Regions from separate parts of the Homo sapiens genome. Here region 1 is linked to region 2. The links are contacts of gene promoters, found by promoter capture Hi-C in human tissues and cell types (Jung and others, 2019). All regions are on one chromosome and are shown on one strand. The core of a region is centred on a gene start or on the middle of the fragment in contact, and the rest is flanking DNA. Distances in the headings are between cores, read along the strand shown.

Evidence for each region. The method cuts DNA at HindIII sites, captures the fragments that hold promoters and counts their contacts. A contact is called where the count stands out against the background at its distance.
Region 1: a fragment that was not itself captured here is called in contact with the fragment with the promoter of PACS1 in region 2 in 1 of the 25 tissues and cell types used here (bladder).

Annotation. Positions count from the first base shown.
Region 1 is chr11:66,245,948-66,253,051 of GRCh38, reverse strand. LOC124902694 reads left to right here. Exons shown (of 3, transcript XR_007062737.1): 2 at 6,679-6,876. It also overlaps a transcript of KLC2 not described here. Among named protein-coding and RNA genes, the nearest start is that of KLC2, 8.2 kb to the left of the region's middle. The HindIII fragment of the contact is 6,602 bases long and covers 1-6,372 here.
Region 2 is chr11:66,064,622-66,072,173 of GRCh38, reverse strand. It overlaps PACS1 (phosphofurin acidic cluster sorting protein 1), which reads right to left and starts at 1,902. Exons shown (of 24, transcript NM_018026.4): 1 at 1,332-1,902. The coding sequence starts at 1,687. It overlaps SF3B2 (splicing factor 3b subunit 2), which reads right to left. Exons shown (of 22, transcript NM_006842.3): 20 at 4,129-4,228; 21 at 3,841-4,026; 22 at 2,866-3,500. The coding sequence ends at 3,429. RefSeq lists silencers at 958-1,162, 1,223-1,372, 1,383-1,512, 1,663-1,712, 1,723-2,342 and 1 more and an enhancer at 3,890-4,049. The HindIII fragment of the contact is 13,254 bases long and covers 1-7,552 here.

The DNA of each region.
Region 1 (7,104 bases), core at 1,822-4,321, 180 kb before region 2:
GGGCGACAGAGTGAGACTCTGTCTCAAAAAAAAAAAAAAAAAAAAAGTCAGCACATTCACCCATAAGTGCTCAAGATGGGAGGCTCCTTAAAGACCATGTCTCCCCAGCTTCCTGAGCTTCCTGAGGGGCCCTTGTCTACCTTGGACACCACTAGTTGTTGGTTCTTTCTGCCACTGAGCCAAGAATCAGTCTACTCAAAGCTGTCCCCAGAGGCTCCTGGTTCCTGTCCTGTGGCCTTATGGCAAATCTGCACCCTCTCTTCCTTGTGACCTCCCAGCCAGGGTAGACCGGTCCTGCCCTGCTCAGTGGAGGGACCGCAGGCCTTGGGGTCAGACTCAGCTAAGTTCAAAGCCGCGTTTCTCCATTTGCTAGTGGTGTCGCTTTTTAGGCATGGTCTGTTATTTTACCTGCTTCCTCATCTGTAAAGCAGGGTTCCTATTACCTACTTTGTTGGGACATCCAGAGAATGCAATAAAATGGCATAAAGGGGCTGGGCACGGTGGCTCACGCCTGTAATCCCAGCACTTTGGGAGGCCGAGGCGGGGGGATCACGAGGTCAGGAAATCGAGACCATCCTGGCTAACATGGTGAAACCCCGTCTCTACTAAAAATACAAAAAATTAGCCGGGCATGGTGGCTCGGGAGGCTGAGGCAGGAGAATGGCGCGAACCCGGGAGGCGGAGCTTGCGGTGAGCCGAGATCGCGCCACTGCACTCCAGCCTGGGGGACAGAGCGAGACTCTGTCTCAAAAACCAAAAACAAACAAACAAAAAAGGCATAAAGGCTTAACATTAGGCCTTGTACATAACAGACACTATTCCTAGTGGTTGTTTATTCTCATCACCATCAAGCTTAGTAGTCAACAGACCCTGAGTGCAAGGTGTGGGAAAAGAATGAGAAATACGGGGCAGCTTCTGCCTGCAGTGTTGTTGGACAGAGATGCACTCAGAATGAAGGTGAGCCACAAATGAGGCGGCAGAGACTGAATAGAAGCAAGCGTGAGCTGTGTAGTGTGGACCGTAGGTGCCCATGTGATCAGGAAGGAGATGAGCCCAGCGAGGGATGAGCTCACCTCTCCCCAGCGTCAGCTCTCCCACACGGTGGGGAGGCCCACATCTCCATCTCTGGCCCAGATCAGTCCCCTGAGCTCTACCCAGACCCATATATTCCACTTCCAGTTGGAATAGCACTAAGTCCTGTCCAAATCTCCTGCAGGGATGTTCACACAGGACAGTCAGTCTGTCCTGGACTCTCTTTCAACTCTGTTTTCTTTTTTTTGAGATGGAGTTTCACTCTTGTTGCCCAGGCTGGAGTGCAATGGCATTGTCTCGGCTCACTGTAACCTCTGCTACCAGGGTTCAAGTGATTTTCCTGCTTCAGCCTCCTGAGTAGCTGGGATTACAGGCATGCGCCACCATGCCTGGCTAATTTTGTATTTTTAGTAGAGACGGGGTTTCACCATGTTGGTCAGGCTGGTTTCGAACTCCTGACCTCAGGTGATCTGCCCGCCTCGGCCTCCCAAGGTGCTGAGCCACCATGCCAGGCCTCTTTTTTTGAGACGGAGTCTCACTCTGTCGCCTGCCCAGGCTGGAGTGCAGTGGCGCGATCTTGGCACACCGCAACCTCTGCCTCTCAGGTTCAAGCGATTCTTGTGGCTCAGCTTCCCAAGTAGCTGGGATTACAGGTGCCCGCCACTATGCCCGGTTAATTTTTGTATTTTTAGTAGAGACAGGGTTTCACCATGTTGGCCAGACTGGTCTCAAACTCCTGACCTCAAGTGATCTGTCTGCCTTGGTCTCCCAGAGTGCTGGGATTACAGGCATGAGCCGCCATGCCCGGCCTCAACTCTCGTTTTCTAACCAGCTACCAAAACCTATTAATTCAACCTCTTAAGTCGCTCTCAGATTTATCTATTTCCCTCTAACCCTTCCACCTTTACAATGTCCTCATCACATCTTTTCTAAATGGCTGCTGCACCCTTCAAGCTCATCTGCTGGTCTGCAGAGCAGGTCTTGTTTCTCCCGGTGTGTTGTATTAAGGAGATCTTTCTGAAATATGTCGTCTCACTTCTCTGCCTAGGTCCCTTCGCCAGCTCCCCTGTCTCTCAGGACAGAGTGTGCAGTCCTTGCTCTGGCTCACAGTGGTAACAGTAACAGCTACGAGGTTCCTCAGGGCCTAGACTCTTCCTCCGCTCCCACTGGCACTCACCATCCCCATGGTCTCCAGCTGCACTGAGCCCTGTGTGGTTCTTGGCATCAGCCACATTCTCCCTTATCTCTCTTATCTCCCTTATCTCATGCTACTTCCTATGCCCAGAACATCCATCCTTGTCAGATGTCTTCAGTATGCCACTCAGGTGTCATTCCCTTTGGGACATCTTCTTGGACACCTCTTCCTGCAGGGTGGACATCCCTCCTGTGTGCACCAGTGCAACCTGTCATGCTGTGTGGCGATGGTCTGCTTGTCTCCCCTACTGGCCTTAGCGTTCCTGTATAGGTTGGGACCCAACCTAGGTTCATGCTGTACCTAGGACACGAACTAGTAGGAAGTTAATAAAAGCCAGATGTATGGATGGTTGGGAAGATGGGATCTGAGTAGGGCCCTGAGATATGGCCTGAGTCAGATGATGGGGTTTAGAAACCTGACCTCTTCTCAGCCGATATGTGTGCATTGGACGAGTGACTTAACCCTCACTCATGCACTGAACCAACCTTTATCGAGGGTCCGCCGCATGCCAGGGTGCTGGATACTGCAACAATGAGTCCGGCGGCTCGGGTCTTTGTCCTCCTGGAGCTCTCATTCGAATGTGGTACAGAGACATTTGCTGCAGGTAATAGTGAACTCTATGACTGAAGAGACAGAGGCTAACAACCAGGCTTTGGGTGGGGTGGTTGGGGAAGGCTCTTGGAGGAGGTGATACAAAGGCCACATCTTAAAGGAAAAGGAGCTTACTCTGGGGTTGGAAGAGGGATGTGAGCACTGAAAGGTCAGGTGTGGCTCGAGGGTGGTGAGCATGGCAGGGGGAAAGCAACTAGAAGTGAAGGTAGTGAGCCAGACCACGGGCCTGGTGGACGGTGGTTGGCCTCTATTCAGAGGGCACTGGGAGGATAGGACGACAAAGGATACTCTATGCGAGGAAGGTACCCTGGCTTATAGTTGGAAACAGCGTTTGGGAGGCAGCATGGACAAGAGTTGCTGATGGATTGGGAGGGGCGGCGCAGGATGAGTCCGGGTTTCTGGCTGGAGTAACAGGATGGAGGCTGGTGCCATTGCCGACTGGGGAAGATCAAGGGAAATCAGGAGTCTTGCTTTGGCCATGTGAAGTCTGGGATGACTGTGAGTGTTCAGGTCGCAACATAAGTGGTTAGATGGGAGGCTCTAGAGTTGGGAGGGGAGGCTCTGACCTTTGGTTTCCTCCTTTGCAAAAGGAAGCATCAGCAGAATTGATTTCACAGGGAGGGCTGCTTTAAGGACTCGATGAAATAAACCATATAAGGCACTCAGCAGCAGCCTGGCTCAAAGGCAATGCCCTGTAGGTGACGGTGACAGCTATTAATGCTGTCAGTCCTTGGACACGGCAGGTGAAAGGGGTGGCGAAAGAAGCAGTTTAAAGATTAGTCTGAAACCTCCTGTACAGCAGAATCCCAGATGATGCATGTAGGGATAATCAACACCTCACCCGAGTGTGGGCTGCACCAGCAACTTCCTTCCAAAGAGAACAGCATGGGAGCAGGTGTGTGGGACTTTACAGTGAGGAGCCCAGGTCAACCTCATCCATGATGTCATGTTGACGGCATGTGCCCTTCACAGGCTGCGCTGAGAAGGGCATTCACCTTTGAGGTCTTCCTCCCCACAACCTATAACCTCCATCCAGCCACGAGAAGAACATCAGACAATCCCCAACTGAGGGACATTCTACAAAATGCCTGACCAATACTCCTCAAAACTGTCAAGGTCATCAAAAATAGAGATCAAAAAGTCTAAGAAAATGTCACAGCCCAAAGGATCCTAAGAAGGCAGAATGGGCTGGATGTGTTGGTTCACGCCTGTAATCCTAGCACTTTGGGAGGCAAGGTAGGAGGATCGATAACTGAGGTCAGTTCAAGACCCTATCTCTACCAAAAAAAACGAAAGAAAACAAAACAAAACAAAGAGCCAGGTGTAATGACACATGCCTGTAGTCCCAGATACCCAGAAGGCTGAGGTAGGAGAATGGCTTGAGCCCAGGAGTTCCAGGCTGCAGTGAACTAGGTTGGCACCACTGCACTCCAGCCTGGGCAACAGAGCAAGACCTGGTCTCTAAAATCAACAACAAAAAAGAAGACAGAATGACCAAACGTAGTGTGGCATTCTGGGTGGGAGTCTGAAATGGAGAAAGGACATTAGGGAAAAACTAAGGACATGCATAAAATAGGGACATTTATTTATTTATTTGAGAAAGAGTCTCACTCTGTCGCCCAGGTTGGAGTGCAGTGGTGCAATCTTGGCTCACTGCAACCTACGCCTCCCGGGTTCAAGCGATTTTCTTGCCTCAGCCTCCCGAGTAGCTGCGATTACAGGTGCCCACCACGCCTGGCTAATTTTTGTATTTTTAGTAGAGATGGGGTTTCACCACATTGGCTAGGCTGGTCTTGAACTCCTGACCTCAGATGATCCACCTGCTTCAGCCTCCCCAAGTGCTGTGATTATGGGAGTGAACCACCGTGCCCGGCCAAAATAGGGACTTTAGTTAATAATCGTGCATCACGATTGACTCACTAGTTATGACAAATGCACATGAATGTAACATGTTAACAGTAAGGGAAACTGGCAGGGCGGTATATAGCCACTCTTTCTACTATTTTTGCAACTTTTCCATAAATCTAAAGGTATTCTAAAATAGTTTACTTAAAAATAAAACCAGTCTGGAGTTGGCGTGCAGGTTAGATAGAGGCTCTTCCACTTTCTGCATCAAAAAGCCTTTAGTCTCTGGCGGACCTTGGGCAGCTCTGCTCTGGTCCAGCCTTAACTCCTGGTGACTGGGCACAGCTGCTTCAGGGTCTGAGTCAGCACCTTCCACCTGAGTTGCCTTGTGCTCCAAACTGTCCCTACACAGCTGATTTCCTCTTCTTTGCCCGGGGTAGGAGTCTATCTTCTTACTTCTGAGCCTATGAGAAAACCCAGGTGTCTTTTGGGCTAAGGCATCAGTTAAAATGTCTTGAGTAGCACATCTGGATTTGGAACCCAATTCCAGCAGCAAGAGGGAACTTCATTCTGCAAACGAGTATTTATTGTGCACCTGTGATGGGCCAAGCAGTATTTTGGGTGCCAAGGATACAACAGGGAAAAACATTTCCTCTTTTCTTGGAGCTTGCATTCTTGTGGGAGAGACAAATGAATAATTAATGCCAAGGAGTGGGAAATATGAGTAAGAAAAAAAAAAAAGAGGGGTTGGAGAAGGGAAGGCCTCCTGAGGTGACATTTCAGCCAAGACCTGAATGATGGAGCAAGCCACACGGGCCTGAGGGCAGCAGCAGGATGGACAGGACCAAAGGTCCGTGCAAAGGCCCTGAGGCTGAGTGGTGTTTGAGGAATGTTGAGAGGCCAGTGAGGAGGGGAAGCGTAAGAGGAATTAAGATCCAGCAGCTCCTGGGAGATCAGACCATGTGGGCCCCTCACAGGTAAGGCTTCAGCTTACACACCTAGGTAGGTGGGACACTCTGCACAGTTTGGATCAGCAATCCAACACGATCTGCTCAGCTCTGAAAAATCTCTGGCTATTGAGTGGAGAACAGGCTACAGGGAGAAGAGGGTGGGAGCAGGGATAATTAGGAGCCTATTGCAATATCCAGACAAGAGATAATCGCAGTAGAGGAAGGGGCAAGGCACTGTCAGGATAAGCCTGGAGGATTTGCTCATGGATTAGATGGTGGGTACAAGAGAAACAGGAATCGAGGAGGATTCCCCAGTTTTCGGCCTCGGAACTGAAGAACCGAGTTTGCATTTACTAGGAGGGAAGTCTCCCCAGGGGAGCACATTTCACACCATGGGGCCGAGTGAGCTCCCTTTAGGGCTGAGTGTGGGGAGAGAGGAGGCTATATTAGAGGCTGGAGCCCCGAGTCCTCCAGGGTTTTGAGGCTGGGAAGCTGAGGACACCATAGCAAGGGAGGCCAAAAAGGAGAGGCCAGGGAGGTGAGAGGAGAGCACAGAGCTGTCCACAGGCCAGGTGGAAAGACTCAAGCGGGTGATTATTTGCATCCAATGCTACTGATAGGACTGGGCAACCCAGGTCACTGGCAACTGTGGAAAGGAAACTTTTGGTGGGATTGTGAGGAAAAAACTGGAAGGGAGTGGGCAGAAGTGGAGACGGGGAACACACACAGCTCTTTGGAAGAGTTTTGCTCTAAGGGGAGCAGAGACAAGGCATGGCAGCTGAAGAGAATCTGGAAGTCTCTGGTCTTTGATATTGAGCTATACCCACTTGGGATGCATGTAAGTGGGTGGAAAGTCCTGGCAGAGGGGAGAACCCGCAGTGCAGGAGAGAGGGCGACTGTAGGAGAAAAGCCCTCAAGGAGTGAAGAGGGATGGGCCCCGAGGATGGGAGCAGGGTGGGGCATTTATTGCCACAGAAGGGGAGGCTGAGGATATGGTGTCAGATGCAGACGGGCTGAGAGTTCACCCTTCACCCTCTCTCCTAGCTCTAAGCCAGAACCTAAGGGGGCCAGAAGCTGGGATCCAAGTCTACTTGTCCCACCCCCTCCACTGGAACTCCCTGGCCCCCAGCTCTGCACAGCTCCTGCCCTGCAGCCCTCGCCTGGCTGTGCTCCGGGAAGTCCTCGTGGGCACTTCACCCTGCTCTGCAGCCACACTCACACCCTAGATCCAGGTCACACTAGGTATGATTTGCTTCTCCTGGCCTTTCCTCTCACCAGCCCCGCTATCACCTCATTTAGAAGGCAGGTATGATTTTCATTTTCTAGGCTCAGAGAGTTTGCGCAGGGCCACACAGCTGGGTCCCCAAGCCTCTCTATGTGAGGTCGTCTGGGCACAGGGCTTGGGGAACCCAAGACTGAGGCCAGTGACAGCAAGCTCTGGATGGCCATCCACTCCTCTGGGGCTATACC
Region 2 (7,552 bases), core at 653-3,152:
AACCAATCAAGTCACAGAACACATACAGGATGACACCATGTACACAAACTTCAAGAACATTCAGAACTATAAAATATATAGAGATGCATTATGTAGTAAAACTAATTTTTTTCTAACAAGGGAAATGATAAACACAATTCAAAATAGTGTTTACCTTTGTAGAAGGAAGAGGGGAGACAGTCAGGAAGGGGCACCCTGAGAGCTTCAACAGAAGCGATAATGCTCTGTTCCTTAAGCTGAGCGAAACAGAAAGATGTACTCTCATCATTCCTATCTGGGATATATATATAAAACAATATTATCCAGAATAAAGGTGGGGAAAGGAAGACAGTCGAGGGGGGAGCCCAGCAATCCTCTCTAACTCTGACTTACACATCCGTCTGCCTAACCAACAGTGAGGAGACAGCCCAAGACTTCAAGGCAACAGAATCAACTCAGCTACAAGGTGACAAAAAAGAACACCTCCAGGCACTTCTCTGGGCTTTCTGGGTGAAACCAGCTCCACACACCGTCTTATTCAAGTGGCAAACTGTAAGACACAGCACCCTGTCCCCAGAGTTGGAGACAGACTGCCTTGCCAATACAAAAACAGAAAATATTCCCAAACTCAGGCCTATTTTGCCAATGGAAGGAAAGTCCCCAGATGGTTCCAACAGACAGAGAGCAATGGATTGAATTTAGGAACAAGGCAGTAATTTCATACAGCCCTGCAGAGCTGGGAGATTCTGGGACCAGTTTTAGTGGGGGAGGGGAGGTAAAAATACACTTGAGGACACATTAAATAGGGCCCCAAAACTAAGAGCCTAGCGCTTGGGACAGAACGTGTGTAATATGAAGTTCAAATGAACATGTGTGCCGAAGGCTAATGAGAAGCCCCTAGGGTGATTATATGAGCTTTACCTGCAAGAGGTGACAATCGAGTTTGGCACATGCTGAGTCTATTGGGAAATAATAATATCAAGAGATCTATACCACATCCATGTATGTACAGCTCCCGGCGCCGGCGAGGCAGGAGAGTGACTTACTCAGGGAAACTGACTGCCAGGAAGGCCGGATTCGGTCAGCCCAATCGGAGAAAGCCCGGGGCCGAGGCCAGAAGGTCCCTCGGGGAGGACAGAAGGGTGGTCCCGGCCCCAGGCAGAAGGTGGGGCTGCCAGGAGAGGGCGGGTCCCCGTGGCAGGAGTCCCGGGAGGCCTGGCTGGAGCCAGGCCGGGCCGCGGGACAGTCGGGGAGATGGAGGGCGGGGACCCCATGGGCGCTGGGGCGGGGAGGGCTGGGCCCCGGCGGCCACCCCGCTCCCCCGGCGCCCCGCCGCACCCTCCCGCGCTCACCTAGGCACGCAGCTGGACGAGCTCCGGTCCACCTCCCAGGTGGCGTACAGGTTCATCTGCACCGGGGCGGGGGTGCGGCCTGGCCCCGGGCCACCGGGAGGCGCGGAGCCCGAGGCCACCGCCACGGCCATGGAGGTGGAGGTAGACGAGGACGAGGAGGAGGCAGCCGCCGCCGAGGTGGACGAGGACGACGAGGTGGCCTGGGCCAGCTTGGGGGGCGTCGGCTGCTGCGGCGGCTGCTGCTGCTGCTGCTGCGGCGGCGGCTGCTGAGGGGACTGGGCGACCCCGGATCCCCGCTGGCCGCTGCCGCCCCCGGCGCCTCCGGGACCACCGCCCGCCCCTCCGCGTTCCGCCATGGCCCGGCTAGGCGGGGGTTACGGAGGCCGAGGCGACGCCGATCTGGCTCCCAGGCTTCCCCCGCGGCGGCGGCGGCGGGGGCGCGGCAGCCTCCTCAGCCCGCCTGCCCGAGCGCGAGCAGCCAGCGAGCTGCACGCACGCGCGGGGCCTCTGGGCGCGCGGGCCTCGCGCTCGACCGCCGCTGCCTGTTGCGGCTCGCGAGGCCGACACGGGTGGGCGTGTCCGGGAGGGGGCGGGGAGCCCGGCCCGCGCGGCCCCACCCAGCGCGGAGGGGCCGGGCCGGGCGCGCTCGCGCCCTGCGTGCAGCCACGCGCGCCCCTCGCTCCCGCGGAGTAGAAGGGGTGGTCTGTGGCCAGCGCGCGCCCACGGGTCCTGCCCTCAAATCCGCTGCCAGTCTGCCCCCGCTCCTCCCCTCCCCGCCCACGGCCGGCCGCGGCCCCGCCAGCGGAAACCCGGCTTTTCCGGGATTCGGTCCCTGCAGGGAGGGGGCCGCCGCGGGAGCGCGCCTCGGCCCCTCGGGTCTTCGGAGCCAATGCGGAACCCGCCCCCAGCGGTGGGGGTCTGCCCGGGGAAGCCGGCTCTCCGCCTGCCGACCTAGCCCTGCCCTGCGGCCCCGGCAAACAGAGAGGTCGGCGGAGACCCGGGGCCCGCTGCCACCGCGGGTGCCTGTGATCCGGGAAGTTCCCGCCCCGAGGGCAAGCGGGGGCTCAGGGACCTGGAGTCCAGAAGGTTCTTCGCATAAGTGAATTCTCAAGCTACCCCGGGGCCCATCTGGAGCCAACCTTCCTCTTCTTTCCCTACCCCCCAAATGCCTCTTTAGAGTGCCAGTGCTTTGTTGCTTACCAAATTTCTAAAATTCCATTCCTCCTAAGGCCTAGCTCAGCTGCCACGTCCTATCTGGATCATGCCCCCCACAACCCCGAGACCATCTTGAACCCTCCGGCAAGTGAGCGCCTCCACTGGTGCACTTAAACACCAACAGTAGTACAACAGCAGCGCATGACTACCCTCCCCACAGGCTGGCAAATGCCCATGGGAGCCAGTGATCCAGCCTGCTCTAGTCTGTCAGAAAGGCTGCTCAGGACCAGATTACAACCTGGAGAAAGTAAGTCCCCCCATCCCACATACAAATCCCAAACCCCAGCGACTAGTGTTGCTTGAACCCAAGGGTTCATATGGACTCAAGACAATTTAGCTTTTGAGCTATGTTGTCGCACAGGTAAGGACTTGAACTTCTGGTCACAAGGTCAGTTGGGAAGGCCTGCCCTGGCCTACTTCCCAAGCCCACTGTTACTTCCTCTGCCGCGCTAGGGCGCTAATCTGGCTATTTTTACTCCCCAAGGACAAAGTAGTAAGGTCAAACCAGACCTAGAGGTACTTCCCCCAAGCCTTCCTACAAAGCAGGGCAGTGGTGAAACACAGATTTCAGCCTGGGGTTGGCGTCACCACCAGTCAAATGCGCCGTCTAATCCCAGTTTATGTTCGTGGTTACTGGGGCAGCCCAGTGATTGTAGAAAGAGACTATTTTAGTCCTTTTGCAAGAAGGGGCTAAAAGGAGATGAGGGAGGCTCAGGAGTGTTAAATATTCATCTCTTTCCTTGGGAAACAGCTTTATTTACAAAACAGGTCTAAAATAAGAACATGAAATGACAAGTCCTTGGGAACTGCGGGAGAGGTGGTTCTTGTGTGAAGCCCAGGCATCCAGACGTAGGGCCAAAAAAAGGGCTAGTGTGAGGGGACCTAAAACTTGAACTCCTTATATTTCTTGCTGCCCCCACGGCTGTCCTGGGGCTGAGCTTTCCGTTTTTTTTGCTGTATAGGGAGAAAGAGACACAGGTTAAGACAGGTTGAACCACCCCCGGACCCCCAAAACAAGGGTGGGCAGCCTGACATAGACATAGAAGTCTGTGGGAAAGGCGCTGAATCTGAATTCTCTTCGAGCTCCCTCTCAGACTTGGCTGAGTTCCTCCCCCTCATCGTCCTTAAAGAGGGCAGCCCACTGGAGGATTTCTAAGACTTCCAAATCTAAGGAAGCACAGAGCAGCAAGCAGAGGCCACCCTCACTCTCACCACTAGAGGGCACCATGCCACTGAAAACGGCAGGCCAGGGTCCCTGGCTCTCACCCAGCCCAGCGCCCCTGGAAGCGCCTACCTTCTGTTTGGCAGCGTGCTCAGCCACCATGTCACTGAAGTCCTCCTTCTCTACTTGAGCCTGCTGCTCCCGCACATGCTCCTCATACTTCTGGGTCATGGCCATAGGATCCAGCTCCAACTCTTCAGGCGCCAGCGCCACTTCCACACCTTGCAGCTCAGGAGCCGGGCCCTTCCGGCTCATAACCTGGAAAGGAGATCAGGGCCTGGTCATCTCCAAAGAGTCAGAGAAGCCCTAGCTTCTGCTGCCTTTCTCAGCCTCCAAAAGCAGTATCCTCCAAGTACTCACCGTGGACATGTCATAAATGTGGGTTGATCCCATCATGGCCCCTCCAACAGTGGCTGTTCTCTTCTCTGGCAACACAGTGAAGAGCTGAGGTGTCTCACTTCTGCGAAGGACAATGGGATCAGGCCCAAAAAGCAAGGGACAAAAGGGTCTCCAGAAGCGGAAACAAAAGATACAGGTGGCACCTCCACTCAGCGCCTTGGAGAGCTTCTGAGCTCCCCAAGGATGCAGCCTCTGCAGTTCTGCCCATGACAGAAAAGAATTGGGCGGGGGGGTGGCACAGTGCTGACTCCAGGGAACACAGATGGAGCTAAGGGGCCCCCTGAATCAAGTCAAGGGATCACAGACCAGGACTCCCACATGCACATAAGGGTCAAAAGGTCAGAGAGGCTCAAAGTTTCCAAAAGAACTTTGGTACAGAGAAGCTGGCAAGATAGAGCAGGCGACAACAGTTCCCACCCGAAGAATGTCATGCCTGGAGTTCTCATGTATGTAATTCACACTTCCAGGCCTTCCAACGCAAGAGCCATCCACAGCCAGTTTCACCACTAATTTCAAGGATTACACTAGGAACAAGAGCAAATCTACCACTATCACCCCAGACTATGCCCATCATCTCCACCTCTCCCGCTGGAAGAGGTGACAATCTATTGTCCACACAGGAGCCAGAGAAAATACCTTAAAACGGATGTCGGGTCCTGTCAGACCTTTGCTCAAAACCCTCTGAGGCTTCTGATCATTATCTGAATAAAATCCAAACTCCTTACCATGACCTAAAGGGTTCATAGCCTGGTCCCTTACCCAAGCCCTCCTCACTATACTCTGTCCACAGTACCCTTCTTTATTTTTCTTCCTTGAATATGCAAAGCTTGAGACTTCTGCTTCCTGACAAGGAGCAAGAGGAACCAGATACACCCTCCTGCCTGAAACAACCAAAAAAAATGGGCAAAATATATGAAACAGTGGTTTTCAAGACACTACACATGGGGCAACAAAGCACAGTGATTCCTGCGAGACAGGAAACAAATGTGATGAGCCCTTCAACTGCCCCAGCATACCACACCTGAGAGTTTGCAGGCCACAGAACAGAGGGGAGACTCATGGAGAGCCCTGAGGACTCCGTGAGTTGGGAGGATGAAACTGAAAGTCCAGGGAGATCAAGGCAGCTAGAGTTCACAGGATAGAGTACTGGAGAAAAGAGCAGAGAGAGAACTCGAGACCTACAGAAGGTCCTCAAGTATGCAGGGGAGTACTAAGCAGCACATGCCTACCAAGGACAGGGAAAGAAGCACCCAAAAGGATTCATAACAGCAACTGCTGCTCACTCAGAACTGGGAATAGAGTAACTCCCACTAGCCAGCCGGAAAAACCTCCTGATTCACAGGGTGGTGGGTAGAGTACACAGGTACTTGTGCCTCACAATGGGGAGGACTGCTTCAGTCCTGCCTCAAGAACCCCAAAACAAGACCTGAAAGGATCAAACTATCTCCATATAACTATATTCCCGAATGAGCTGAAGAAAATGTACAGGAATACAAAAATATCTTGGACCCAACAAGGTAAATTTCACAAAGCCTAGCATTCAATAAAAAATTACCAGGCACTGGACAGGCCTGATGGCTCACACCTGTAATCCCAGCACTTTGGGAAGCTGAGGCAGGATGATTGCTTGAGCCCAGAAGTTCAAGACCAGCCTGGGCAACACAGTGAGAACCTCTCTCAAAAAAAGAAAGGAAAAGAAAAAAAAATTACCAGGCGTGCAAAAGAGTAGGAAAATACAATCCATAATGAGGAAAATGAATCAACTAATGGCAGTCAACCCAGAAATGGCACAGATGTTAGAGTTAGCAGACAATACATTAAAATGTTGTTATAGCCAGGTGTGGTGGCTCATGCCTGTAATCCCAGCACTTTGGGAGGCCGAGGCAGGCAGATCACCTGAGGTTAGGAGTTCAAGAACAGCCTGGTCAACATGGTAAAACCCTGTCTCTACTAAAAATACAAAAAAATTAGCTGGGTGGGGTGGCGCACGCCTATAGTCCCAGCTACTTGGGAGGCTGCGGCACAAGAATTGCTGGAACCTGGGTGGCAGAGGTTGCAGTAAGCCGAGATCACGCCACTGCACTCCAGCCTAGGCAACAGGGCAAGACTCCGTCATAAAATAAAATAAAATAACATAAAAATAAAATATTGTTATAACTGCATTCCACATGTTCAAAAAGTTAAGAGAGAAAGAATAGATTTAAAAGACCCGAAATCAAACTTCTAGAAAGGAGAATTATATTGTATGGGATTACTGTTAGATCAGAAATTACAGAAGAAAATAATAGTAAACTTGAACATATAGCAATAGAAATTTTCTAAAGTGAAATACAAAGAGAGAAGAATTTCTTTAAAAATGAAGAGCATCAGTGAGCTCTTCATTTATTTTTTCATTTATTATTTCATTAATAGAGGAATAATTTGAGTTCCCAAAGGAAAGAGAAGGGAACAGAGAAAATATCTGCAGAAATCATGACAAAATTTTCCCCAAATTAATAAAAACTAAAAACCCAGATCTAAGATGCTTAAAAAACCCCAAGCAAAGAAACATTCAGAAACTACACCAAGGCACATTGTAGTCAAATTGTTAGAACTAGTGATAAAATCTTAAAAACAGCCAAATAAAAATGACACATTATGTACACAGGAACAAAGGTAAGAATGACAGCAGTTTTCTCACTAGAAACAATGCAAGAAAGAAGACACTGGAGCAACATCTTAAAAGTACTGAAAGAAGGCTGATGCGGTCACTCACACATGTAATCCCAACAAGCTGGGAGGCCAAGGCAGGCGGATCACTTGAAGCCAGGAGCTCGAGACCAGCCTGGCCAACATGGCAAAACCCCATCCCTACTAAAAATATAAAAATTAGCTGGGTGTGATGGTATGCACATGTAATCTCAGCTACTCGGGAGGCTGAAACAGGAGAATCGCTTGAACCCAGGAGGTGGAGGTTATAGTGAGCCAAGATCACACCACTACACTCCAGCCTGGGCGACATAGCAAGATTCCATCTCAAAGAAGAAAAAAAAAAGTGTTGAAAGAAAAAAGATTGTCAACCTAGAATCCTAAACCTGGCAAAGATCTTTCAAAAATGAAGGCCAAATAAAGAATTTTTAAGACTACTCAAGCAGAACAAATTCAAAACCAGCAGACCCACAATACAAGAAATGTTTTTTTAATATTTTGTAGAAATGGGGTCTCACTATGTTGCCCAGGCTGGTCTCAAATTCCTGGAATCTAGCAATCCTACCACCTCAGCCTTCTCCCAAAGTACTGAGAGTACTGAGATTACAGGCTTAAGCCACCACGCCCCCTAACTTAAGAAATGTTAAAGGAAGCCCTTCAGGCAGAGGAAAAATGATATCAGATAGAAACCTGGATA